Regions from separate parts of the Homo sapiens genome. Here region 2 is linked to region 1. The links are contacts of gene promoters, found by promoter capture Hi-C in blood cells and fetal thymus (Javierre and others, 2016). All regions are on one chromosome and are shown on one strand. Each heading gives the region's core, a stretch centred on a gene start or on the middle of the fragment in contact. The rest is flanking DNA. Distances are from core to core; before and after follow the strand shown. Region 1 holds the start of TMEM252 (transmembrane protein 252). Region 2 has its middle 30 kb from the start of TJP2.

Region 1 (7,480 bases), core at 1,479-3,978:
CCCACAGATGCTGCAAATATTCCCAGCCTTTTCCCCTTGATGCCCAAAATAAATTCCTCAAATACCCTGAGCCCAGGAACTATTCTTAATTTCACATAAATTTTATGTAAAGGGACTGAGTCCTTCCATCCCCCTGCCACTTCCTGGATTTTGCTCTTCCATACCTAATTTCTCACCAAAAACATACCACCACCACCATCACAACAACAACACTGCTGTGGAATGACAGGAGCCTCCTCAAAGGGCACTGGAGGGGAAGGAACTGTCTGACAAACTATAAGGCAATGGTTCTAGTGTACTTTATTGGCATGGAGGAGGAAAAAGTATAGAGAAACTTATTTACTCATGTGTTGATGTGATCACAAGAATGAGGCCTGACCTGTCATAATCCCCAGTCTAATTTCTGCCTCCATTTTTGTCTAAAACAGAGAAGCCCAACTGTCTGATGGGCAGTTCCGATTGAGAGTACTCTTCCTCCATCACCTGATTCTTAACATTATCCTGGGGCTTTACCATCTACCTGTTCCTGGGACCCAACTCCTAGTGCAGACCTTTCAGCTGGGGGTCCTGGGTCTTCCACAGATTTTTGGAATTGTAACAGCAATGATAATAACAATATTGGTGATGGTGATTATAGATAACCTTCACAGGGCACTCTCTGTGCCAGGTACTATGATAAATACTTAACATTGATTGTCTCTTCTGATTTTCAAAGTTCTAAGAGAATTTTTTTAGTTATCTACTGCTATCTAAAAAATGGCCACAAAACTTAGCATATTTTTAAAATATACTTTTTTTAAACTTTTGACCTCTTTTATTTGTTAAAATAGTGACATCCATAAACATGAAATGATTTGATCATAATGCATTCATTGATTATGGCTCTTGCCATCTTGTGGCATCCAGGACCCTGGCTGAAACGTTTTATCTCACAGTTTCTGTGGGTCAGGAATCCGAGTATGACTTACCTGGGTCCTCTACTTCAGGGTCACTGAGTCAAGGTGATGCTTGGGAGCAGAGTCATCTCAAGGCTCAGTGGGATGAGGATTTGATTGCAAGCTCACGTGGTCATTGACAGGATGCAGTTCCTCATGGGCTGACGGACTAAGGGCCTCAGTTCTTCAGTGACTGTTGGCCAGAACCTGCCCTCAATTCCTTGCCTCATGGGCCTCTCCAATATGGCAGCTTCCTTCTTCAAAGGGCGTAAGCCAAGAGGACAATAGAGAGAGTCTGCTAGAAAGATGAAAACCACAATCTTGTGTAGCCTCCACGGAAGTAACTTCCGATCACCGTTACCATATTCTATTGATTAGAATGAAGTCACTAGGTCCAGCCTACACTCAGGGGAGAGGATTACTTACACAAGGACATGAATATCAGGAGGTGGGATCCTTAGGGATCATCTTAGAAATATTCCATCTCACAGTTTGGGGAAGGAGGGAATAAGAGCTGTTTTAAGATTACAAAGACAATATCAAGACTAGAAGATCAAGGTAGTTCAAGGTCGAAATTGAAGCTAAGAAAGGTAAAGGCTAAGGGTTGGAATGGAGAAGTGCCTTATATAGTTTTTGATCCATAGTGTGTACCTCTCTAATATCCGTGTCTCCCAGCCCTAACATGAAGGTAGAGCTAAGGAGATGGTGAGTGTGAGACTAAAGGTTATATGAGGGATTATTAGGGCACGCCACAAAAAACTGCTGCTCTCATTGGGAAAGTAAATGGAAAATAATGGTAATGGAGTAGTGGAGTGGAACAGCAGCAAAGAGGAACTGAAGATAAGCTATCCTGAGTAAAAGCAACCCAGGGTTCCTATGGGAAGGAGACTTTTGGCAGAGACATGCCACATTATCAAATAAAAAAGGGCAGAGCCAGGGCATAAAGCACGTCTGAAATAAGCTATCCACAATCAAAGACAGTCAAGCTAAAGAAAACAAATTCCAGCCAGGAAACAGAAGGCTGGTTCTGGAAAGATTTTTTGAGGCAATGCTACATAGAGCAGAGGTGTGGAGGAGAGGACAGGGAACATTTTTAGCAGCATCCTCTAAAACGAATTCTATTTCATATGTACTTTATGAAAGGGGGAAAGATTGCAGGAATTACAGGCCCAAAATCCCCCCAAATTCCCGAGGCTCTGTCTATTATAGTCCTTTTCTCCAGCACTCTCCTTTCCCTCCCACTCAGGCTCTTTCGATCTTGTCAACAGAGCAGGAACCACGAAGTTCACACTCTGAACTTCTGTCTTGGAATTATGCCAGTATCATAGTGTGGGGGCAATAAGTGGGGATTCATTGAGGGAGGCAAGACAAACATGTTAACAGCCTTGAAGAAATGCCTTTTTAGTACAGAAAAAGGGAGAAGGAATCAGGAAGGGATTTCTTACCAAACCTCAAAGAAGATCGTTCTTTAAAGAGTGCTAACTTCTCCAGCTTTTAGTGGGGAATTGCCCTCCATGGGGATTAAGAGACCAGCGCCTTTTAATCAAAGGAGGGCTGTACGTTCAAATAACTGGGAACAGCTGAGTGTCCCACCCAACTCTGAAGAACAAAACAGCTACACGAAGCCACTCCTGCCTGCAGTATACAATGCTATGTTTTTTGGCTAATTCTCCAAGGATATTACACTTACTTTCAATGGTTAATGAATAGCTTCTAAGTGCCTGTTTCATTTAGTTGTCCAAAGGCCAGTGGGTCCCAGAGCATATAAAGCTGCAAGCTGGCTAATGAGCTCATTCTCTTGGAGCAAGCAGGGAAGCAGAGGAGCAGCAGGGTCAGGGTGCTGGGTTCCTAAGGTGCAAGGATGCAGAACAGAACTGGCCTCATTCTCTGTGCTCTTGCCCTCCTGATGGGTTTCCTGATGGTCTGCCTGGGGGCCTTCTTCATTTCCTGGGGCTCCATATTCGACTGTCAGGGGAGCCTGATTGCGGCCTATTTGCTTCTGCCTCTGGGGTTTGTGATCCTTCTGAGTGGAATTTTCTGGAGCAACTATCGCCAGGTGACTGAAAGCAAAGGAGTGTTGAGGCACATGCTCCGACAACACCTTGCTCATGGGGCCCTGCCCGTGGCCACAGTAGACAGGTACGTGCTGACAGGCAGAGGGACCAAGAAGGGCTGAGATGGGCTGAGTTGTGTAAGATCTGAGTAATTTCTGATCCTACTATGGAGCGACTTACATGTCCCATGGGCTGTCTGTCTAGAACCAAAGCTTTATTGTCAGGGAATTACTCTGGGGTTGTTATTAGGAAGAGTGGCGCCATCTTTGGGGAAAACCATGACGCAGGGGCAACTCATCTCAGAGAAACCCTACCACCACCCCCAGTGAAAACCCACCTAAGCCAATTTAGAAACCCAGGCTCTTTTGTTATATCATGGCAGCTGTCATTAATTAGTGGCAGGTGATGGTTAGTTACTTCCCATAACCTGGCTATGAGGTTCTAAGGAAAGCAAGTCCCAGACCAAATTCTGCCACACAACAAATGAAGAAGCAGGCATAAAATGAGTCCTGGAATCTCTGTGAGCTCAGAAAAGTCCCAGTTTACTGTCCTTTTAGGTGTTGTGATCTCACCTTGCATAAAACATTCCTTCAGGGGAAGGTGATAATATTCTAGAGGCAAGATTCATTCTTTCTCGCCATCTCATACATTAGGATAGTTATCATCAAAAAACAAAACCAAACAGCTAGTGTTGGTGAGGATGTCAATAAATTGGAACGCTGTGCATTGCTGGTGGGAATGTTAAAATGGTGCAACCACTGTGGAAAACAGTGTGGAGACTCCTCTATACATTAAATATTGAATTACTGTTTGATCTGGCAATTCTACATTCTGAGTTTATACACAAAGGAACTGAAAGCAGGGATTCAAATGGATGTTTGTACACCAATGCTTGTAGCAACATTTATTCATAATAGCCCAAATGTCCATCAACAGGTGAGTAGATAAACAAAATGTGGTATATACATGCAATGGAATATTAGCCTTAAAAAGGAAGGAAATCCTGGCACATGCCACCACTTGGATGAAGTTGAAAACATTATGCTAAGTGAAACAAGTCAGTTACAAAGGGCAAATATTGTATAATTCCACTTACATGAGTACTTAGCGTAGTCAAATTCACAGACACAGAAAGTAGAACAGTGGTCCCAGGGGCTGGTGGAAGGAGAGACTGGGGACCTATTGTTTAATGAGTAGAGAGTTTTAAGGTGATGGTTGTAGAGCAATATGAGTGTATTTAGTGCCACTGAGCTATACACTTAAAAACAGTAAATTTTATGTCATATATATTTTACCACAAGAAAAAAAAGATTCAGTTAATCTTATAGTCAGTATCAGGCAACAAGAAACCTCCTAATTCTTGGCTAGCCACAGGACCATTTAGGGATAACACCCTAGGCATCATTCTCAAGATACAGGCTACAAGACTATAATTATTTTGCCCTCTTCGTGCAAGAGTAGAAAGTATCTAAAATATTTTAGCTACTCCATGTATCTTGAATATAAGTAATCTTACCCATGAGCATCCACTTTTGGCATCCTTTATGCTAATTAATAAGATAATAATTATGAAAACCAAAACTTATTTCCAATGTTATACTAACCAGCAGAGTTTCTGGGTTTGATTAAAAATTAAGAGAAATGAAGTGATTGTAGAAGATGCCTCTAGAGTGATGATTTCTTTTTGTATAAATGTTAGAGGACTACCTCTAGAGTGTGAATTTCTGATAAATGTAACTGATTGCCTTTAGGATATAGCTTAAATTGACTAACACTGCATAATATTACAGTATACTGAAATGTTTGAAAGTAAATTATGGACATCGTAACACCCCCATTTTACTGCCTCTTCTCGCTGCATGTAATAAGATGCTTATCCCACGCAGAATGGCTGGCAAGTCAGCCTGGGAAGTCACATTTCTCCAAAGCATTTGCACTCAAAATGGATACCCAGGTTGAGATATCAAAGCAAATGGGTCTCCGATGATGGAATTCAGGGGACTGGGAATATGGATGGCAGTTGAAGGAGGGTGGGGTTGGGAGAGGTAGCTGGGATTTGGGGCAGGCAGCAGTCATCCTGGAACCTTTCACATCACTCCAGGGAACATCTCACCTTTCTGTGTAAAATGCCTTTACACATGTGCCCCGTGACTCAGCCTTGGCTATTCTGAGCGAAGGCTGAGATTTATGCCTTATAGTAGACAGCTTCTTCAGCTACTGGCTTTGGGCCTGGTAACATTTGGAATGGAGTTGTGGCTACAAATGGCAGTCCCTGTTCTGTTGTGGTTACACACCATAAACACTCCCTGTAGGCACTGGAAGGATCACTCTATAAATACACAACTCAGCCAAGCTCACCGGTCTCTCTTCCTCCCCTCTCCCCTTCCCCCAAATTCATTCATGATGGAGAAGCCAGGAGGATTTAGCAATTAGAAATGCCAGGCAAGATGACCAATGAGTACATCAGCCCCCGAATGAATGGCTGCTTTAGCCTACTGGCATAGAAAGGGCTACAACTGAAATCTGTGTAAAGTTGTCAGTTGATATCATTTGAGAAATGAATATGTTTGTATATTTTCTTTGAAACTAGCTACTGAGTCTCGAAAGGGTGTTAGGATAGAGACATGGCATCTGGTATAGTTCAGGGATCAGCACAGAGTTGGTTTTCATTCATTATTTTGTTGGCTGTGATGATCAGAGAAAGTGAGTGCAATTGAGGGGATGATGCCATGCGAGAAAGGGAGCAAGGATGTGGATGGACTAAGTACTCGGTAGAGAGAAGTTCCCTATCCAAAGCCCCCACCTCCTCTAATGTTGACAAGGATCTCACACTGAATGGCCCTGTTTTCATGAGTGAATGAGCAATAGAGAAGGAATAGCTTGGCATAACCCACTGGGAAAAAAATGTGACTAGAGGCAGGCATCCTGTGGCTGATAAAAAGGTTCTTTTGGAAGAGCAGCACATTTTTAAAAAACTGGTGATGCCAGGAAGAAGTACATCTGTTTCAAAAATCCATGTTTCTTAACAGTTTAGCTTCGCACAATTTGAGCTGAGAGAGGCAGCCGTCTGCCTCTTTGGCATTAATGCCTAAATAACGCACGCATGTTTATGCTGTTTTGTCCCCTAGGCCAGACTTTTACCCTCCAGCTTATGAAGAGAGCCTTGAGGTGGAAAAGCAGAGCTGTCCTGCAGAGAGAGAGGCCTCTGGCATTCCTCCACCTCTATATACAGAGACGGGCCTGGAATTCCAGGATGGAAATGACTCCCACCCAGAGGCCCCACCATCTTATAGAGAGTCCATAGCCGGCCTGGTGGTGACAGCAATCTCAGAGGACGCCCAGAGGCGAGGCCAAGAGTGCTGAGGCAGAGAAAGCTCTCCAGCACTCATGATGCCACCACTGTGGGGAGCAGCTACTGATAATAAAGGCAAACGAGGGACTGTGGGAGGAAAAGCCACACCAGGGACCCCACAAGAGAGCTTGGGGAGGGGATGACAGCCCTGAATTCCAGACATAACTGGCCATGCCAGGGCAGGGCAGGCCAGGGGCCCTGGAAGGGTGTGGCCAACACCAAGCAGACATTTCAGAGCATTCACACTAATCTTAACCCCGGCTGGCCTTGGGTCCCCAAAGGTGTCACTCTGAGAGCTCTGCTTACAGAGATTCTTTCTGCTGTCACTCAATTTCCCTCCCATCACCTCAACTCCAGCCAGGGAGGAATAGATGCTGGTTGTCAGGACAGCCACATGCCTTCCTGTTCTATATCACCTAGTAATCTCAAAGCGAAGGTTTGTTGTTTAATTTATTGATTGTTCAGCCTTTTGTTTTGTTAGCTTGTTTCCTAGTTACCTCCAGCTGACCATACTACCAGAGTGAGGCAGTACTTCACATCCTGGGAGATATGCCCTCGGAACCCATGAATGTTATTTTGTATTATTTTATTTTCATGATATGTATTTTTTCTATGTAAAAGGAAAATGACTGTAATATTTGCCTTCAAGATGGTTCAAACACAAAATATTAAATGAGCTGTTTCTTAAAAGAGGTCCTTAAACAAATAGACATGATAAGAATGCTTATAGACCCAAATGGAATAGACAGAATACTTAATTCATAATACATGGAATTCCGGGGTGTAGGGTGGAATTTGTACTGGCCACAGATGGTATTAATATACCACTTGATATAAATCTTATAAAGGTTAAAAATATTTGTATGTAATTCAAAGAATCCCCATATAAATCTCTAGAATTTGAAAGATAAGAAACTCTAATGATGTACGTTCATCATTAACAGGAAATTTCTTGTGTCTCAAGATACAGATCTTGACTTTTAGACTTAGGACATTCATTTTTAAATCCGATGGTTTCTCCTCAACTTTATTATATTTTATTGTTTTTTTAAATACAAGAGGACAAGTCTGGTTGCAGGGTGGTAGACAGAGATGCAGCCTGATGCTTTTGAACTTGGGCCAAGAATCTTCATCTCTCC
Region 2 (7,480 bases), core at 2,237-4,736, 600 kb before region 1:
TTCTCTCTCTCAAAAAAAAGGCACATTCAACTTCCCTTATTAAGGGCTACTTTGTAATAATTTGACTTCTGTTTGGTTTGATTTGGGGAAATGAGGAGAAGCAGAGATCTATTTAGGTCTATTTAGGGTACTTATTCCAATTGCTAGTAGAGGTTATCTCTGAACAAAAATTAATAATCTAGCAATCAACTTGCACATCTGAATCATGGGAGCTTGTTTAGGCCGAATCCCTTCATGAAAGACCCTGAGGCAGAAACTAAGAACATCCCGTTTCTGTCTGAGAGCCAGGCCCTTGATCAGGATGACTCCAATGAGGCTGAGTTTCCCACTTGTAAAATTCGAACACTAAACTAGAATTCAGGAATGGTAAATATATAGGCCACGGCTTGCATCTCCCCAATTCCCTAATCATAGGTTCAGAACAAACATCCCTAATCAGTTGCGATATTCCTTTCCCGCTAAGCCCAGGTTTGGCCTCCAGGTCCTCCTAGCTAGATACTCCAAGCAGCCAACCATCAACTGGCACCTGTCTTCCACATGAAACCTGTTTGCCATCCCTGGCAAAGGTCCTCCCAGTTCTAAACTTTCGTCATTCTGAGACTAAGGTCTAGGCTACCGCATGCCCAATCACGAGAGGCTACTTGGAGAATCTCAGTTTAGTCATTACAATGTTTTCCACAGCCCTGGCTGAACAGCATTAACCTACATGGACTCTGATAGAGTCTCTGTATGCCCCCTGCCCTCTCCACGCATATACACACTTCCATTTACTTTCAAGACAATAACAGTAGAATAACAATAATATAATTAAAATGTTGCCTCAGAATTCCATTCTAAAGCATCTCTAAGATTTCCCAAAGAAATATTTATTTTTTTCTAATAAAATGTACCCTTTTACAGATGGGAAGAAAACCTATCTAAATCAAATGTCTCACCAGTGGCACCGTTGACACTGTGGGCTGGATAATTCGTTGTTGCAGGGGGCTGTCCTGTACCTTGTGGGATGTTGGGCAGTATCCCCAGACTCTACCAACTAGATGCCAATAGCAACCCCTGGGCTATAACAACAAAAAAAATGCCCCAGACATTGACAATTGTCCCCTGGGGAGCAAAATTCCCTATTTCCACCTCCCCGTTGACAACCACTGACCTAAACGATTCTAGTAGTTCTCTTGGGGAGATAGGACAATGGGTAATTTTCCCCCTTATTTTTCTGTATTTTCTAAATCTTCTATAATGAATGTACATTGCTCATATGATAAAAATAAGCTAGTAACTATCTAATTGTTAAAAAGAAATATTTGCTACACAGATGCAAGTTGATCAGTACATGCTACTGTGTGACTCATTCAGTTTGAAAATTAAATTCAGGCCCTAAAAATATCGTCTACCATAAAGGCACCTTAAATTCACCTTGTCTTTAATGTGTAAGAAGCACAAAAGAAGACTTCAGAGAAGAAAGTTAGAACTAAGGCTTGTAGCTATGCATAAAGAACTTCTCAACCTTTCTTCATCATGGTAAATCAGTGGGGCTGCAGAAAGAGATGTGGAAGGAAAACTGCTGTTTCAAGCAAAGTATTTCCCCGAAGCATAGTCTGCACATACACTTTAATCAGAAAAACACTTGTATTGTTGAAAAACATTATAGTAATAAGGCATATTTTCTTCATTCTTAAGAATTGCTACATTTGTAAACCATGTTAAAAAAACATTTTCAAAATCAGAAAATTAAATGTCTAGATTGTAAAAATGGGCTCTAGACACACCCATTATTCATCTTCTTGGGTATTAGAATATTATCCAACAATTTCATTCCTATTTTTAAATCAGTCTAGGAGTTCCATTCTCCACCAAGAAGAAACAAGTTCTTAATGAAGAACTCATTTATTATCCCCACAAGACAGAGGACCCTTTTTTCTATATGGGTCCCCAAAACAGACAAAAAGTATTTACATCTATAGTGAGAAGCTTCCAGCCTCCTCTGCTTACCCAGGTTGTTGCCAAAGGTTCACGTGTCTTCTGCTCTCAGGTAGAAGTTCTCTTTTGTTAAGTGGGGTAATACCAACTGCTGCTTCCAGAATACCGATATATTTCTTGTACCTCATCTTGTCTCTCTCGGTACAAGGTCCTGTAAATTTCAGTCACTGTTCACCTGAAGCAACTGAACTAATCTTTAATGGAAGCTGCTGTTCCTTTGGATGTTCTCTATGTAGCCCTAGCTAGATCTATTAAACACAACCGTGGTGATGGGGGGGCAGACCACAAATAAAGAGAACGTCTTTCAGATTTCCCTGCAATGGCAGTATTATACAAGGCTAAATAATTCTGAATAAAGCACTAATGAAAATGATTTGCAGGAATGACTGCGGTTTTAAACACGGCGATCTAATGTACACTCCAATTAATCCGCACATAAATCTTTGAGGCCGCTAATCCTTCAAGAACTAATGGCTCATGAGGTGATTTATCTCAAGGTCTGGTAATAATTGGTCCAAAAAGCCTGCCTGCCACTGGATGAACTAAAATCAGAAACAGATTTGCTCTTTCTACAAATATCTCTCTCTCTAAAAGCCTGTGCTTTGACAAGTGAGGAAGGAATTCTAGTTGTCATTTTATAGCAATGCATTTCTAAGCACTATAAACTCCTTGCTTGGGTCAATAGCAAAGATTAATTAATTAAGAAACAATTTGGTGGGTTTTTAAAATTATTATTAAAAACAACTTTTTAAATACCTCTAGAACCCAACATGTGTGATCCCTGCCATCATGAAAATATATCGTTTGGAGAGGTTCAGAATCTACCTCATCTCCATTTTCTTTAAGTCTCCTCTTGGCTTTGAAGAGCTTCCTTACCCTTTGTCCATGGGTAAAGGTGGACCACCTATCATGGTGGCCCACTCAATGGGCCATGGTACACATGATCCACATACTGGGTCAACCAGTCTTCCCTGGGGTGAACAGATGACTGTAGGAGGGAAATGTCCTGTTTCCATTGGATTTGCTAACCAGGGCTGATAGGAAGTTGGAGCTCTTGATAGTAGTCATGTGCCCCGCCACATGGAGAGGGCTCTTCACTAGTATTACAATAGTTGAGAAAAACAGTACCAAGAAAAATGTCATGACATCACTCGAGCTTCTGGATCCAGCTATGCCGGAGGCCACTGTCACCCTAGGAGATTACAGTTATCGTTTATGAAAGCTAATAAATTGACTTTTGTGAAATTTAATTTTAGTTGAGTTTGTCACTCTGAGAGTTCTGACTTAAATAGCTCCTTCCTCACCAACTTCTTCAAGCTATTTTTTTTTCCTATTTGATGTGCTATGGCAACATACAAGAGTCATGCTGCTCCTTGTCTAAACAAACCCATACATAAAGGGAAGCAAAATAGAAGGGGAGCCATTATGCAGTAACTCTGATTAACCTAGATGTCCAAAGTGAGTGTCCCAAACCCTTCCCCATCCCCGCAAATCTTAAACCCTACTTCTACAGATTCTCTTTCCTCAATAGCAAGTTTCTTTTGACCTAAATGACCTAAATCTCCAAAGTGAGGTGCACATACCAACAATCTTTGGGATGTGGGAAGAAAGTATTATGCCATCTATTTCCTCTTTTCTTCTCTCATGCTTTAAAAATTTGAGTGTTGCTGGGCACGTGGCTCACATCTGTACTCCTAGCACTTTAGGAGGCTGAGGCAGGAGGATCACTTGAGCCCACAAGTTCGAGGCTGCAGTAAGCTATAATCGTGTCATTTTATTCCAGCCTGGGTGACAGAGAGAGACTCTGTCTCAAAAAAATAAAAAATAAAATTGAATGTTTGTGTTTTGAATATTCATAATATTTACCTTGAGAACTAATATCTTTTAAATTGTAATAAGGTACACTATTTACAAACTAATATACTCATGTATACGGTAGAGTGTACTTAAAAATCTGACAGGGGTATATGAGTGTACTTAAAACTCTGACAGGGTATATTACAGTTTGGTGACTTTAAATAACCCTTCAACTACTCCCTAAGCCTCAATTTCCCTGTTTATAAGATGAGAGGACTGAATAGATGAAGGCTAAGTTTTCTTCCAAAAACAACAAAAGACCAAGAGCTCCCACTTCACTTGGCCTGATTATGCAATTAATATAATCTGACCACAATAAAGTAAAAAACAAGGGCTAAAGCATTTGGTCTTGGAATATTTCATTTCCATAGTATTCATGAATATTACTCCCACTGGTTGTTCTGCAAACAATTAGTACCAGTTAGTCCCAGGAATTCTTTTATAGGCTGAACTTGGTTGGCTACAGCTGCCACCTCTGAGTAAAGGTCCCATACAGCCCTCATTTAATCATACAGGAAGATGTAATTACACTCACACAACAGTCATTGTTCTAACAAATTGTATTTCTGATGACGCATGATAAAAATTACTATACAACACTCTAAATAAGTAACAAAGCCTGAGCTAACAACAAGAAAAAATCAACTTAAACTTGTTACCCATTGGAAGCTGTTCTCCTGCAGTGAAAAGTGACATGATATTTTGCAAATGGGATGTTTTAAAGTTTCATTTTTTATTGGAATTTTCGATGCATTTAACATGCAGCTCTTACAAAGTGATTCTTATCTATGATGATTTCACATAAAATTAAAATTGTGTCTTTCATTAGGAAAATAATTCTGCCTTAGCAAATATTAGAAAGAATTTGCTTTTCTTCCATAAATCAGACTGTTCAACTTGCTAATTTATTTATTCATTTTTTAAAATTGTCATCTTTGTGTGGAATCTCTCATAATTATACATAAGGTTAATAACACAGGAAATAACAAATCTAGCCAAAATACCCCTTCCAGATATGACACTTCATAATTCTAGAAATTATTTAGAAATATGCATATATTGGGTTAATTCCCTTACAATTCTAGAAATTGTTTATAACTGGAACTATTAACTAAAAATCATTTATCTATTAAAAGTGTTTTTAAATATACATGATCCAAAAAAAGCTTTTAAGTCAGGATGCTCAAGTTTTCTTTCTGGATGATTAAAATTGAACATAAAACTTCACAGATCAGACTGACATTTCCTTTCAACTAATATTTCTACTTTATTTCTTCTGGAGAAAGACAGTGGCCATGCTTCTTCACTGGGTGTTTTAACAGTTACTGTGCTTTGGAAGTATAAAAAGGGAAATGAACTAATGCCCTGTACAGTCTGTTTTATAGGGTGTGGTCTGCTTTTCAGGAGCTGAAAAAAGCTTTAACTAAAAGTAGAAGAGTTAGGGAAACAGCAATTTTTTTGTTTTTGCTTTTTTAGCTCTACTGAAAAAAGCATTTCATTTCTCTCCTCCTTAATATGCTCATAAATAATATCTTTACATATTTGCTACTCAGATGCCCCACCAATACACTGTAAGAAAAGCAGATTACGTGATGTAAAAGAATTACCAAAGAGTTAATAAAGTTTAGTGTGGCTCTTTTAGACTCACCTGCTCAGCCCAAACTAGCCTTCTCTCCTCAGAGTCATTCATCCTCAGAACATATTCACTACTAGGTTTAAACTATTACCTTCAACTGGATGTCATCAAATTTATCGTTCCAATCCTGTCCTCTGGCACAACCCAGTATCTATTGGAAATAACCCATGTGCCCAGCGCCAGCTACAGTGCCCCTTGCCTTTTCCGGCTTCTGTGCATCCACCTCCTGGTTCACCCAGCATGAGACCTTGAAGACACCCTCATCCATTCCTGTGTGTCCCCAGTCATACCAACCCCATGACACAGGGGAAAGACTTGGTTTGAATCCCACCTCTACTGTTTAAGACCTGGTGACCTTGAACAAGTTACTGACCTTTCTGAACCTCTGTTCCATCATTCGTACAGCTAGACTAAGACCACAACACAGGGCTTGTTTTAAATAATAAATGCAGCCAGGTGCTGTGGCTCACGCCTGTAATCCCAGCACTGTGGCAGGCCGAGGTGGGTGGATCACATGAGGCCAGGAGTTCAAGACCTGCCTGGCCAACATGGTGAAACTCTGTCTGTACTAAAAATACAAAAAAGCCGGGCATGGTGGTGGGCACCTGTAATCCCAGCTACTCGGGAGGCTGAGGCATAAGAATCGCTTGAACCAGGAGGTGGAGGTTGCAGTGAGCCAAGATCATGACACTACACTCCAGCCTGAGTGACAGAGTGAGACTCTGTCTCAAAATGAATTAATAAATAATGCCGTAATGTATATACATTCGGTGGATATCATCCCTCCCTCCCTTCCTCTCTCCCATCTGTCCTTCTTTTTCCATTCCTAATGCCTCTTCAGGAAGAGTGGTCCTTGTGGGAAAAACAGTGAGACTGAAAGACAGGCTGGCTGGAGGGTACAGGGACCCAAGGGCTGGAGTGGGCGGTGGAAAACACCACAAAGAAAGGAAAGTAGGCTCCTGGGTCCTGCTCGGGGGAGCAGAGGAAAGGGGCCTGGCTCTGGTGGGCCAACTGGGGAGGCCCTCCCTTATGGTTGTGATACGTCCTAGATTTTTAACCCCTGCTACTGAATAGTTCAAGCCAACATTAAAATCACTTAATTGACTGCCCTTCCCAAACAACTTGCATATATATAATAATTCATGGATTCTCTGAGTACTCTCAGTCCTAAGAAATAAAAAACTTTCAGGCCGGGTGCAGTGGCTCACGCCTGTAATCCCAGCACTTTGGGAGGCTGAGGCGGGTGGATCACCTGAGGTCAGGAGTTCAAGACCAGCCTGGCCAACACATAGTGAAACCCCATCTCTACTAAAAAAATACAAAAATTAGCTGGGTATGGTGGTGCACGCCTGTAGTCCCAGCTACCTGGGAAGCTAAGGCAGGAGAATCACTTGAACTTGGGAGGCAGAGGTGGCAGTGAGCCAAGATCGCACCACTGCACTCCAGCCTGGGCGACAGCGAGACTCCGTCTCCCAAAAAAACAAAGAGAAATAAAAAACTTTGAACTCCTTATGTGAGGGAACACCGCTCCCTATTACTGTTGGTAGAAATTGATCCTACGCTGTTTCTACTATGAGCCTAGAATTGTAGGATTCTAGCAGTTCCCTTGCCTGGGAGCACATGAGCGATGAGGTGTTGCACAGAATTCAGAATCTTGGCAGGAGCTGGTTTAAGACAAGTGTGGCCTGGCCATTCATTGGGTGAGGGGAATATCAGTCACCTCTGCTCTGGAATTTTAGGAAAGGAACACCCCTCACATCAGAACTGGGAACTTGGTAGTGACTATACCGGGTATGAGGTGTTGAGATACAGCAGTTGGCTGACAGCAGCTGGAGAGAGTAGTTCACATGATCCCACGCTGCACCTGCTGACACACCCCTCCCACTCTGTAGCATGAATTGGGGGGCCACACTGCCTGAGATTGAAGTCCAGCTCCATCACTGACTAGCTGTGTGGCTTTGGAAGAGTCAATGTCTCTGCCTCAGTTATCTGTAAAGCAGGGCTAATAAT

What was found. Contacts are between HindIII fragments. The CHiCAGO score rates a contact against its expected background, and 5 or more counts as called.
Region 2: a fragment that was not itself captured here is called in contact with the fragment with the promoter of TMEM252 in region 1 in 1 of 17 cell types (monocytes); the score reaches 6.1 in monocytes.

Annotation. Positions count from the first base shown.
Region 1 is chr9:68,536,131-68,543,610 of GRCh38, reverse strand. TMEM252 (transmembrane protein 252) reads left to right here and starts at 2,728. Exons shown (of 2, transcript NM_153237.2): 1 at 2,728-3,074; 2 at 6,118-7,031. The coding sequence starts at 2,797. The coding sequence ends at 6,352. It overlaps TMEM252-DT (TMEM252 divergent transcript), which reads right to left and starts at 2,586. Exons shown (of 5, transcript NR_187592.1): 1 at 2,381-2,586; 2 at 969-1,233. It overlaps LINC01506 (long intergenic non-protein coding RNA 1506), which reads left to right. Exons shown (of 4, transcript NR_109769.1): 4 at 8-70. The HindIII fragment of the contact is 3,743 bases long and covers 1-3,203 here.
Region 2 is chr9:69,140,329-69,147,808 of GRCh38, reverse strand. It overlaps a transcript of TJP2 not described here. Among named protein-coding and RNA genes, the nearest start is that of TJP2, 30 kb to the left of the region's middle. The HindIII fragment of the contact is 3,032 bases long and covers 1,971-5,002 here.